3 separate regions of the Homo sapiens genome follow, and all the other regions are linked to region 2. The links are contacts of gene promoters, found by promoter capture Hi-C in human tissues and cell types (Jung and others, 2019). All regions are on one chromosome and are shown on one strand. Each heading gives the region's core, a stretch centred on a gene start or on the middle of the fragment in contact. The rest is flanking DNA. Distances are from core to core; before and after follow the strand shown.

Region 1 (4,341 bases), core at 460-2,959, 74 kb before region 2:
TTGGAACTAAGTTTGTTGCTACAGAGGGAGTTTTATCACACATATAGAAATACAAGAACCCCTTGAGCAGGCCTCCCTGCATCCCTCACTGCATCTAACTAATTAAATCAACATTTTCAACAGCCTCCCTGCGCCTGGCACCACCTTGACCTTCGTTAGCATCTCCCCGGGTGCTGGTGTTCAACATTTGCCATCAGAACAGTAGTGGTCTGAGGACCCGGTGCTGCCGGACACTGGGTCTCAGCCTGACCTTTGAGAACAGATGACTGTTTACTCACTGACTCCCCACCAGACACAGGAGACGGGACTCCCTAAGACGCTTGTTTACAGGCAGTGAGAATACCCCCAAAGCAAAGCTAAAAAGGGATCTGTCTTCAAGGACGCTGGAGCCCTCCTTTTTTTTTTAAGGAAGAAAATAAAAATGTGCTAAAAAGTGCTGAGAGGATTGAATTATAACGCATCAGAAGGAAAAGAGAATCTGCAGTTGTCCTTACGCTCGTCAGCCTGTTCGGTAATGAGTGGGGAAGTGAGAAGAGGAAAGCAACTGGAAGAACTCCACACGACCCACAGAAACCTGGCCCTTTGCAAATGCTGAGCTGGGCCTCCTTCTCTCAGGGTGCTGTAGAGCAGAGGCTCTCAGTGAGATCCCTGGACCCACAGCAGCAGCATCAGTAGGGAGCTTGTTAGAAATGCACATTCTCAGGCCTCATCCTAAGCCATACTCAATCAGAAACAGGGTGGCCGGCCTTGCAGCCTGTGGTTGCTCACTTGAGAACCTCTGTTGTAGGGGAAAAGAAGTACCTGGGATATATTTACAGCTTCTTTACTCTTGCTGGAGCTGCAACACAGCTGCAAAGCCAAGAGCACAAGCCAAGGAGAGCCTATGCCATTGGTGCAGATCATGACTGGGTCAGCATGTTGAATCCCAACTTCTTGAGTCATCTCCAAGGTGAATGTGTTGCTTCCCCAACCCAATTTGCTCCAACCTTTTAAAAGTCAGTTTTCTGGCCACACTCTGCCTCTTGCTCCCTTGCCAGGCAGATGGGAAGTAGGATTCCCCAAGAGGATCAGGAACAATCTCGTCGGACTAAATTCAGCCAATCTTCATCAAATGCCTAAAACTACCTTTGGATCTTCACAGGACCTTGAAAAACACTGGCTCCTGTTCCTTTGTCTTACTTCTTGCATCTTCCCAGAGCACAGCACAGCCTGACTCAATTCTTCTGACATAAATATGAATCATAGACTCTCCATAAGTATCAGCCCTGATAGGGACACAATCTCTCCCGGTGAGAGATGTCCCATAGCATCATTTTGTCCAATCATCCATTTCCACTGATGGCTCAGAAATCACATCCATGCCTTGTTATTGAAATGTACAGTTTGACATTGTTTTAGTACAAAGACAAAGCCACACTGTAAAAGCATGTATTCGGCAAATCATTGGTCAGCACAGACATCGGTATACCCAGGACTCCCTGCGATACAGCAGGAGGGGAGAGCCATTCTCTGTGGGTGATTTGCCTATTTTCTCTTTAAGGGATAAGAGAGAAGTTCTGGCTTAAGGGCCCCCAATTTAAATGTATGTCACCATCATCTCACTGTTAAATCAGCTGTCAGCAACCACTCTCAGACTATGTGAAGTCACATTCTTTGACAAAGCTTACATAGAAATGGTGACCTTGTGACTCTAGGGAGCCAACGACATAGAGAGGCGCCCACAGTGGGGCCTATGAGCAGCTGCTGATGACCAGATTCTACCTGTGGCTGAGATTCAAGGAGGTCAGTGAGATTGGCTCTGTCTCCAGTGATGGGACTGTCCATGTGGTGGAGGAAGGCTTAACTGGCAAGTTCACTGGGGGTGGGAGTGACACCGATACAACCTCTGCCGGCCTTGCTCTTTCCCCCAGCAACTAGGAGCCACTCATTTTCCTCTGCAAAGAAGGAACTGAGCAGGTGGCTCATTTGCCTAACTCGGAGTCCTCTGAATTCTCCAGATGCAGGCCGTCTGCCATTCTTCTGCACAGGGGACGGCCACAGGGTCTGGAAGCAAATTACCTTTAATGAGCCTAGAAGGATCCCTTCTGGGACCAGCCTGCTCTCCATATGCCAGACCCCTGCTACATCGAGTTCTCTTTCTTCTCCACCCCCAGAAGCACCTCCTTTTGTGCCTCATTTAAAGAGTCTGAAAGGCAAATGGCTTCTGGACCTCTTCTACCTCATATCCTGCACTCATTAACGGAGACAAAGAGGGACTAGGGGAAAAGTCACCAAATACAAAACACACTTTTAATGGGAAACCAAATATCGTATGTTCTGACTTCTAAGTGGGAGCTAAGCTATGAGGACGCAAAGACTTAAGAGTGATATAATGGACTATGGGGACTTGGTGGGGGACAGGTTGGGAGAGGGGTGAGGGATAAAAGACTATATATATGGGGTATGGTATACACTGCTCGGGTGACAGGTGCATAAAATCTCAGAAATCACCACTAAAGAACATTTCCATGCAACCAAAAACCACCTGTACCCCAAAAACTATTGAAATAAAAAACTAATTTTAAAAAACTATATTTTTTGTTTTCTGTTTAATAGTCACTCACGCCTGGGCACAAGCATTTAGCAAGCTGGGCTAGCCTCCACACAAAAGGACAATAGAACCTGATTGAAATAAACATTTATTTATTCAATAAATATTTATAAAACACATCTTTAAGGCATTATGCTAGGAGTCCCAAAGTAAACTAATGCTGAGCAAAACTAACATAGCCCTTTCCTCACTGAACTTCAGTGCAGAGAGCAGACAGGCATTCAACAAGAACATCAACAAATGTATGTGTGATTTCAATGCACGCTAAGTGCCAGGGAGAAACAAAGCACAGTGATGGAGCCAAGAGGAGGAGATCACTCAGGGAAGGCCTTGCTGAGGAGGAAACATTTAAGGCAAATCCTGAATTATAAAAATAGGCCAGCCATGCAAGCATTCAGGAGGAAAAGTGTCCCATGCAGAGGGAACAATGTGTCAGAAGACCAGGTATGAGAAGTGTTGCATGAATTTAAGGAATACAAAGCAGCCAGAGTGGCCCAAGCGACATGAGTGAGATGGGGGGGAATAGAACAAGATGGAATTGGAAAGGTGGGCACGGACTGGATCAGGGGAGATGGGGTTGGGAAGGTGGGCAGGGCCTGGATAAGGGAGGACCCTGATAGCCATACTATGAGATCTGGACTTTTTTCCAACATGTAATGGAACACCATTGAAGAGTTTTAAGAAGGAGCATCATATGGTATAATTTATCTTTTTTAAAAAATATCTAGGCTACTCTGAGGAGAAAAAATAAACTGAAGGAACTGGAGAGAAAGCAGGAGACAAGTAAGCAGCTGGTGTGGTCGTCCTGCTGAGAAATGTTGCTGTCTGGAATTCTGCATTAGCAGCAGAGATGGAAGGGAGTGGATGTATTTGAGATATCTGGGTGACATGGAAGAGGAAGAAATCAAAGACCATACAAGATTTCTGACCGGGACAATTAGATGAATGAGGGTCCCAGTAGAGATGGGGCTGAGCACTCTGATGACAAAGGCTGTGCCTGTTGAGAAACAGAGGCAGGGGTCAGGCATAGAGAGGGCTGCTCTAAGCATGCCTGTGCGGAGTCAGTCCATGTGCTGACGCCCACCAGCAGTGCCCCAAACGTTCCTTCCTCATTGCTGGCCATTAGCCAGAACATGGCAGGGAACTCGCAACTCCACATCTCCTGGCTTCAGCAGCTCTAGCAAAACAAAACCAACTTTCTGCTTTCAACATTTGGTGTTGAAACACAAACAGAAACATCTCAAAAAACACCATTCAATTGGGTTTCCCATTATTCACACAGATTTGGTTGCCTTCTTGCTCATGATAGCCCGAGAACTAGCAGTAGGCCAGGCTTCTATATGGAGTTACTTGTTGACTAAGGAAATGAGAAGATCTACAGCCTTCAAGAACCCTGGTAATCCCAGACATAAGGTTTCTACATCTGCTCTCCCTGGTTCCACTTTATGAACCATCCCTCATTCCCATCTCTAAAATGCATGAGCCCTTAACTTGGACACAATTGTGAATATCATGGTGCCCAAAAAGACATGTAGTCTGACTTACATAATAAACCCAAGAATTCAACCAAGCTTTATTACTTCTCTCACAGCAGGTATAAATCTTTAAATTTTTATTGTACTTGTCTGTCTGTGTGTTACCTCTTCTACTAAATGCTTTGAAGGCAGGGTCTTCGGCACGGTCTGGGACTCTGTAAAACTTGCTCGGGCTTGCTCATTGGAGGGAGAGGCTTAATAGACAGTTTCTGATGA
Region 2 (4,441 bases), core at 228-2,727:
GCCTCTTTTTACTTTTTTTTAGTATGAGTTGTAGAAAATGTTAAGTGACGTTTGTGATTCACGTTACATTTCTGTTGGAGAGTGCTGCTGGCTAGTGCCCTAACCTCCTAGTTCGGTGGATGCATTAAATCAGTTAATGCAAGGAGGGCACCTAGCACGCTGTCTGAAGCAAATTAAGCACCTAATAGCTATTATTAATATTAGTGAGCGTACTGGTTTTCAAATGTTGTAGTCTAGTATTTTTTCCCCCAAAAAAACTGGTTGTTTTTTTTTTAATTTTTTTAAGAGGAAAGTTCTTACTCTGTCACCCAGGCTGGAGTAGAGTGTTGTGATCATAGCTCACTGCAGCCTTGAACTCCTGGGCCTAAACAATCCTTCTGCCTCAGCCACCTGAGTGACTAGGACTACAGGCACATGCCACCACGCCCAGCTAATTTTTTAATTTTTTGTAGAGACAGGGTCTATTTTCTCTAGGTTGGTCTTGAACTTCTGGCCTCAAGCAATTCCCCCACTTCGGCCTCCCAAAGTGTTGGGATTACAGGCGTGAACCACCATGCCCGGCTCCCAAACAACTTCTTATAGCAGATAAAAGAGGAGCTTTTGCAGTAGAGTAGAGCTTTGAGGAGCCCTCTTGGGGAGCCCATTCACCCTGGGCACCACCTCCACAAACTGGAAAACCCACAGGATGACATAATCTTTAAGTGTCCTTCAAGCTTTAGCATTCCCTATCATTTCAGAGAAGTTGAGGAAGTGATTGGGAAAGAATTAAGGTGTCTATGGCAGTATATTACAACGACTATGGAAAAACACTCCCATTTTGCTTGGGAAAATCAAAGTGGCTTGGCCCCAGGTCTAGGCACAGCCCAGAAATGGGAGCATCACCAATGTGAGTTGTGGGGCTTGGCCCCAGGTCTAGGCACAGCCCAGAAATGGGAGCATCACCAATGTGAGTTGGGGGTCCCCGTGGGCTCCTGGATCATTACCTACGCACGTTCACACAGACAATACCGATGCACCATGTCACCTCTCCACTTCGGCTCGGTCACAACCTGCCAACTCCCCACCCACCCAGAACCTGGGCAGACCAGACACAGGCTCTAGGCGCCAATGTCCTAGTCTAGCTCCAGGGCCAGGCAACAGTGACACTCAGCCCAGGCACCACAATGATTTTGCTGTCCTGAAGGCAACTTAGGCTCAACCAGCCCTGGTGTCTGCCAGGCAGGCTCCCAACTCTGCCTCCAGCCCTCGCCCCTGGCTCTGGTATCGTATGTGTGGACGGGGAGAGCAGCCAACTCTTCGCCGGGCTCTCTAACAAGTTCCGCGGGTCTGTTTGTTAAAGAAAAATTCCAGTGGGTGCATCCAACACATGGAACTCAAGTACAGAAATTATATTTATCCGCCCCACTGCCAAGGAGATCACATGCCCCGTGAGTCACTCCAGATGTGCTCAAAAACAGAGTCTCTCTGTGGAAGGCCAGTTCCCCAATCCCAGAGAGCGTCAAATGAAGAGAGGTACCGACTCCTGTCCCACCCAGGACGCAGCCTTCAGCCTCCAGCCTTCTGAGGCAGAGTAGGCATTTCTGCACGTCTGCAAAAGGAAGGGAGGGAAGCACTCCATCATCTCACTGGGAAGAACGGCACGGGCATACCTGCAGCTACTGGGGTTCCACTGGGCTTGAGGGTCGATTTTTCACCTTTTGAAGGACAAGATGCATTGGAAGATGTTGCTGCTTCTGCTGTTGTATTACAATGCTGAGGCTTCTATGTGCCACAGGTGGAGCAGGGGTGAGTTGCTTTTTATTCATTTGTTTGTTTGATGCTCATTATACTTTCTTCAATGCAATTCAAAATTTGGAGGGAAGGACATTAGAAGCCCCGCACTCTCCTTTTGTCTAATCTCTGTCAATTCCTTGATGCTTCTTGACGTGTTCCCCCTTCTTAGAGGGTGATGGGGAAATGACACTGGAAAAAATCAAAGCTCCTGAGGGAATTAGGTTGAGGTGGAGAACCCAGAGAGTACCCCTTTCTGGCATCCCAGAGAGAACTCATTTCTGCTTCATAGAAAGTAGAACTCATTTCTTCGACTGCCCCCACCACCTGCAGCAGTTGGGCCAGACCGTCTGGAGAGCAGGTGCTGAGACCTGCTGCTAAAATGATGGAGTGATGGGCACTGGGATGCCAAAGGCCTGCTCCCTGGGGGAACCAGAGCAGAAGCTCTGCAGAACGTTGCCTCCTCACCGGGAGGGGATGCATCTCTGCAGCCAGAGGTGGGCAGGTGAGGAGAGCAACCCTTCAACCTCCACTGCACCCACCAGCTCCGCCACCTCCTCACAAAGGAAGGGGCCCCAGCAAAGGCTGTTCTCTTATCACTGACTTCCTCCCCCTCAGGATGTAGTTCCTCCTAGCTGGATGGCATCTTTTCTCCATTTCCCTGGGAGTGGCTCTGCTTGGTAGACACTGGGAGCACCTCGAGCCAGAGTTTATCACTGTTAGGAAAGGAGGGACCCACGGCACTGCCCACTCTTCACCAATATGAACGGAAATCTTTCCACTGCCTAAAGTCAACTGAGTTCACTCTCCTAGAAAGAACCGCAAGAAGAACAGGCTCCTTCAAGTCAGGCCAGTAGGTGTTTCTAGAGATGCAAAATTGGAAGGCAACTGGCATGGTGGCATGGATGCGCCTCCTGCTTGCTTCTCAAGGACAGTGTCAGGGAAGGAAGGAGTGGCCGGAGTGGGGATAGAGCAGCGCGAGAGAAGGATCTGAAATGGGAGGGAGGCAAAAGCTACTGTACTTATGCTGGGTTTTATTTCCTCATGGTTAAACGTGACATTAGGGACTTACATCTCTAACAGGGATATAAGTCTTTTGAGCTGAGCTGTGAAGTGATCGTTGCCCAGAAACAAATAATACAGCATTCTTCATTTTTCTCATAACAACCTTGCATACACATGCACATACACACGTACACCCCTCCCTTTTCTTTTTTTAATTTTTAATTTTTAATTTCTGTGGGCACATAGTAGGTATACATATTTATGGGGCCTATGAGATGTTTTGATACAGGCACGTCACATCATGGAAGATGGGGTATCCATCCCCTCAAGCATTTAGCCTTTGTGTTACAAACAATCCAGTGATACCCTTTTAGTTACTTTTATTTGTTATTTATTTACTTATTTATTTATTTTTGAGACGGAGTCTCACTCTGTTGCCCAGGCTGGAATGCAGGGGTGCAATCTTGGTTCACTGCAACCTCCGCCTCCCAGGTTCAAGCGATTCTCGTGCCTCAGTCTCCTGAGTAGCTGGAGTTACAGGTGCGCACCACCACGCCTGGCTAATTTTTGTATTTTTAGTAGAGATGGGGTTTCACCATGTTGGCCAGGCTGCTCTCAAACTCCTGACCTCAAGTGATCTGCCCACCTCAGCCTCCCAAAGTTCTGGGATTATAGGCATGAGCCATAGTGCCTGGCCCTCTTTTAGTTCTTTTTAAATGTACAATTAAATTGTTATTGACTGTAGTCACCCTGTTTTCACACCTCCCTTTTCATTGTGTGCACAAACTTTGAGGTAGCACTTGGAAGTAAAAAGCAAAGAGATCTTGGAGTTGGGTTCTGTCACTCCCCTCTTTGTCACACTGGGGATTTGCTTATTAAACAGGGTAACAGTGCCCACTCTTCCTAAGGCACAGGCTATTACAAAGCCAAAAGGGATTATTTGACTTGCAATATGGTTTGTAAACACGATAGCCACATCATGAGCTACTCTGCAAGGGTCCTGGTTTAAGTTCCATCTCTATTTGGCAATGTGATCTCAGACAAGTCTCTTAACCTCTCTGAGCTTTAGTTCACTAACGGGTGACATTAACATCCATCACATCAATAAAACCCTCATGCTATTACTGTGAGGGTCATATTCAAAAATATAGATGAAAATACTTTGTAAATGACAAAGCACAATATAAATATTAGCTATTGCCTACCAGTTTTTGAAAAATAAAAATTTTTCATTAAAGGAAGTTTAAGGCTCTTAACAGGGGAATCTACAGCAACATTCTGGGAGCAACTTCTCCGGGCCATGTCCTTCCGCATTGGGGAAGGTCTTTCCACAGTGAGTTCACAATCCACTGACTCAAAGCCAGCCAAACCGAGGTCACTATGAGGCAGCGGATGTGACGTGCTAGATTAATGGCTCAAGTCAGCGCTGAGTCAACAAATGATACAGAGTCCCTCCAACCATCATCAAATGTCTTCCGCGTAGTTGATTTTTTTTTCATTTTTAACATTTTTTTCTAATTATAAAAGAAATACACAATTCTTGCCATCTTTTTTTTCAAGACTGAATAGGAGTCACACCCAAATGAGTAAGTTTTTCCAAATGTATTATTCATTTCACCTTCATCCTTACCCCCACCCTACCTCCAGCCTCAATTCAAAGTACTCC
Region 3 (4,459 bases), core at 607-3,106, 97 kb before region 2:
AGAAACACAAATACTTTTCACTGGGTTACAGTTGCCTACAGTATTCAATACAATAACCTGACGCACAGGTTTGTAGCCTAGGAGCAGTAGGCTGTCCCAGAGCCTAGGTGTGTAGTAATCTATAGCATCTAGGTTTGTGTAAGTACACTCTATGATGCTCACACATGATGAAGTCACCTCACACATTTCTCAGAATGCATCTCCATTGTTAAGTGACACATGACTCTAAGTTACAGGATATAGGGAGGGGAGGAAACATCACACGAGGACTTTTCCTCCTCTTCTGGGGAAGGGGTTAGTGCATTTTCAGTTGTACACAGGATGGGTGTGTATCATGTTAGATGGAATGATGGCCTTTGATATTGTCTTTATTTGGGTATTAAGTATGGTTTAAGGAGATGCGATGGATGCCAAGTTGACAAGGGGTGGACTTATGATGGTTAATTTTATGTGTCAGCTTGGCTGGGCCAACAGCGCCCAGATTAAACATTATTTCTAGGTGTGTCTGTGAGGGGGTTCCGGGATGAGGTTACTGTTTGAATGTGTGAACTCAATAAAGCAAATGGGCCTTCCCCACGGTGGGTGGGAGTCATCCAATCTGTTAAGGGCCAAAATAGGACAAAAGGCAGAGGAAAGAGAAATTTGCCCCTATTGCTTCCTGCCCACCTGCCTGAGCTGGGACATCCTTCTCCTGCCCTTGCACCAGGATGCACACCATCTGCCCCTTGGCTCTCAGGCCTAAGGTCTTAGACGGCATTACACCACTGGCTGTCCTGGGTCTCCAGCTTGCAGGTGGCAGATATAGGAATTCATAGTCTCCATAATCAAGCCAATTCACAATAAGTCTCATATATGCATATCCTCTTGTCTCTGCTTCTCATGAGAACCCTGGCTATTACAGTTAGTCATGCTATTCCTGTCACCAAACCCATGTGGTACCTTCAGGTGAGCTCACTCTCATGGGCTCCTTCTTCCTGTCCCCCAGTGGTGCCTCCCACTGGCCAAATCCACCCAGACGCCAGAGGGCAGGGAGCTCTTGGCTGTAGTTCCAGCAGGCCGGCCTCCTGAGCACAGCACAGGGGAAAAGAGCAGAGAGCGGCCCTGGAGGGACCCAAAGTAGACATCCTGGGGCCCCACCTTCTAAAGAGTTCTTCCTTTGGTGACTTGGCTCAAGAGCAATAAGTGAGGACGATGAGACAGGGGATCTGGCCTCAACTCCACATTCCGCTACCTTCTATCCATCCTTTCCATTGTCTGGGCCTCAATTTTCTCATTTGTAAAATGAAGAGGGGGAAAGTGGGTGCCTGTCACCACCTTGGGTGCCTAACTCACTCACCTCCTAGGCTCTTGGAGAGGGGTTCACTACCCAGCCAGCCATGACACAAGATCTCACATACCTGCACAGTGGTCTCTGAAGAAAAGACAGAAAGCCTCTCGACTCTCAGCGCAGACTGATTTCACAGATCCGAGCTGTAAGTTTCTACCCAGAAAGCTACCTGGTCTATTTCAGGATCCAGGTGAAAGTTGTCTTCCCTTAAAGTAGCATTTCTCCACATAGGGAATTAGCTCATAATGTCAATCATGGGCCCCACCACCACAGATTCTAATTCAAGATATCTGTTGTAGGAATTCCATGCAGGTTCTCCTTGTACCACACTTTGAAACCTACTGACTTAATGGACAATGGGTTGCATCATACACTTACATAATAGTGTAAGAATTTGTATGTTCATTTCCTCCTTAATGAAAACAAGCTATTATTCTGTAATGGTTATTTTTTAAAAACAATACTAAGAGTTTTGGACATTCAATCCAGTTAATGCACTGCAGCATAGAACTGCTTGCTAAGTAGTAAAATTGCTTTTCAAAACATGATCAAACATCAGTCTAATCAGCCAGGTGTTAGGCTCTCAATCACAAGCCTCAAAACACATAATCAAGTATCAGTAAGCAGGTGTTTTAAGTGAAGATTGAGATAAACAGTTGCCTTTGTGGTTACTGAGGAGGTTTTGCAACATTAAAATGGAGCACCTCGCACTCAAGCAAGCCAACTTCAGAAGCTTCTCAGCTGAACAAATCCGGGCAATAATTAGCACAGGACATTTTAAGCAGATCGCAGTTTAAAAGCTTTGAATCTTACTGAGGAAATCTGTTTTGTTTCCTTTATTCCCAACTGTCTTCAAGATTTTGCCCTGATAGATACTGACTCTGAAAAAAGTCACTAGACCACATTTCACTTTTTTCAGATGGAAGATTTTGATCCCTTTGAAGAAAATTGCGTTCAGATCATATACATACATTCAATATCACAATGCCAGGGTCCCACCCCACTGATCTTTCCAATGTGACAAGACTAGGACTGGGAGTTCTGAAGTAAAACCCAAGTTCCGCTTTAGAAATTACTTTTCACTCTCCCAAGTATTCAAAATGGCTTCTCAGTGGCCCAGTAAATAATACCACATAACTCCATGAAAAATCACTGAAAGATCGAGGGGACAACGTAAGGTGACCATCCTCAGCAGAAGTGCTCATTTTAAGAGTCAATATTAATAATGTAATAACAGAATCGGTCCAATGGGATTGAGCTCTATCAGTCACAAAATGTAACAAAATGAGGAGTTGCTTTCAGTTGCAGTGGACCTCCAGCTTTCAAGTCACATAACCTGAGCACACCCAGATGAACCAAGCCTGCCCAATTCGTGACCCTGTAGGTGGCCAGAGTGAAAACATCAACCACATATGGAACCTAAGAACTCAGATTGAAGAAGGAGGATCAAATTAAGAAGAGAAGGGCACCCTGTTTTGCTGCATTACAGACTTAAAAGGCAAGGACACCTCACCACCTCTTTGCATGGCCCAATCAGATCATGCCTCGTTGCATTTTCCTATGTCTCTGATTGTTATTCCCTGTGTGTAAAACCTGCTCTCAGGCCCCAGCTTGGGGAGACGAATTTAAGTGTTGCCTCCAATTTCCTTGCCAGTTGACCTTGCAATAAAGCTTTTTCTTTTCTCAAAAGCCTGTGCCATAGTATTGGCTTCTATGCACGTTAAGAGGAAAGCCCATGGCTCAGTAACAATAAGACTGGCCTGTCATTTAGGTTTATTCGAGTTCATCCACATGATTTATCTTAGCGAATGCTAAGAAGGGTTCCCTGCTTAAAACTGTAGCTCATAAATTTCTACTAATTTCCTTTGATTGTGAATAGCAGTTTAGTTTTGAGAAAATTTGGTTTTGGGGGGGTTTTTTGTTGTTTTTGTTTTTTTGAGATAGGGTCTCACTCTGTCGCCCAGACTGGAGTGTGGCGGCGCTATCTTGGCTCACTGCAACATCCGCCTCCCAGGCTCAAGCAATTCTCCTGCCTCAGCCTCCCAAGTAGCTGGGATTACAGGTGTGCAGCACCTGGCTAATTTTTTTTGTATTTTTAGTAGAGACGGGGTTTGACCATGTTGGCCAGGCTGGTCTTGAACTCCTCAAATGATCCACGCACCTCAGCCTCCCAAAGTGCTGGGATTACAGGCGTGAGCCACCACGCCTGGCCTTGAGAGAATTTCTCATGCTTCACTTTCTATTTCTCTTCCCTCTCCCCCGGCCTTGTATTGCCATCAAAATATTAGTTTCCATTCTTGTAATTTTATCTCTCTAGTTAAAGGAGCTGTTATAGCATTTGCTCATACATGATACCAACTAAACAGAGTCCCAGTTGCCCTTGCCATTCAATAGATATAGAGGTTTGTGACATAGAAAAATTTCATTCTCGGGCGGGCGCAGTGGCTCACACCTGTAATCCCAGCACTTTGGAAGGCCGAGGCGGGCGGATCACGAGGTCAGGAGATAGAGACCATCCTGGCTAACACGGTGAAACCCTGTCTTTACTAAAAAATACAAAAAATTAGCCGGGCGTGGTCGTGGGCGCCTGTAGTCCCAGCTACTCGGGAGGCTGAGGCAGGAGAATGGCGTGAACCCGGGAGGCAGAACTTGCATTGAGCCAAGATCGTGCCACTGCACTCCAGCCTGAGTGACAGAGCGAGACTCCGTCTCAAAAAAAAAGAAAAAGAAAAATTTCATTCTCAATTGTGCATATCAGTGTTCTCCTCTGAAGCAAAATTGAGAGAGTCTAACCATAACTGAACAAACCAGAGGTTCTGAGATTGTGGCTTCTGAAAATGAATAAGCCCAAAGAACTTCATTCTTCCCTGTGACCAGTCCCTGAAACCTGTCAGTAATTGCAGAACCACATTAGGACTTCTCTTTCGTATCATCTTCCTCTTTTGAGCTGTGGGATTCAGCTGGGTGCTGCTTAGTGTGTAGTTAGGGCTTTTATGTCTCAGGACATTCAAACCTGAAGTTTGAGTCTATTTGCAAAGATAAAAATTTTCCACTGTAACCCAGGGAGTCTGACTATCTTTGGGCTTTTCTGATCTTCCTTTGTCATGTAACACCCTTCTTTCTTTGGTCTTT

What was found. The method cuts DNA at HindIII sites, captures the fragments that hold promoters and counts their contacts. A contact is called where the count stands out against the background at its distance.
Region 1: a contact is called between a fragment that was not itself captured here and the fragment with the promoter of FAM180A in region 2, in 4 of the 25 tissues and cell types used here (H1 embryonic stem cells, heart left ventricle, liver and 1 more).
Region 3: a contact is called between a fragment that was not itself captured here and the fragment with the promoter of FAM180A in region 2, in 3 of the 25 tissues and cell types used here (adrenal gland, bladder and ovary).

What each region holds. Positions count from the first base shown.
Region 1 is chr7:135,820,250-135,824,590 of GRCh38, reverse strand. No RefSeq gene overlaps it. Among named protein-coding and RNA genes, the nearest start is that of FAM180A, 74 kb to the right of the region's middle. The HindIII fragment of the contact is 7,079 bases long and covers 1-4,341 here.
Region 2 is chr7:135,745,849-135,750,289 of GRCh38, reverse strand. It overlaps FAM180A (family with sequence similarity 180 member A), which reads left to right and starts at 1,477. Exons shown (of 4, transcript NM_205855.4): 1 at 1,477-1,785. The coding sequence starts at 1,710. RefSeq lists an enhancer at 3,840-4,441. The HindIII fragment of the contact is 9,123 bases long and covers 1-4,441 here.
Region 3 is chr7:135,843,119-135,847,577 of GRCh38, reverse strand. No RefSeq gene overlaps it. Among named protein-coding and RNA genes, the nearest start is that of FAM180A, 97 kb to the right of the region's middle. RefSeq lists a silencer at 885-1,037. The HindIII fragment of the contact is 4,493 bases long and covers 1-4,102 here.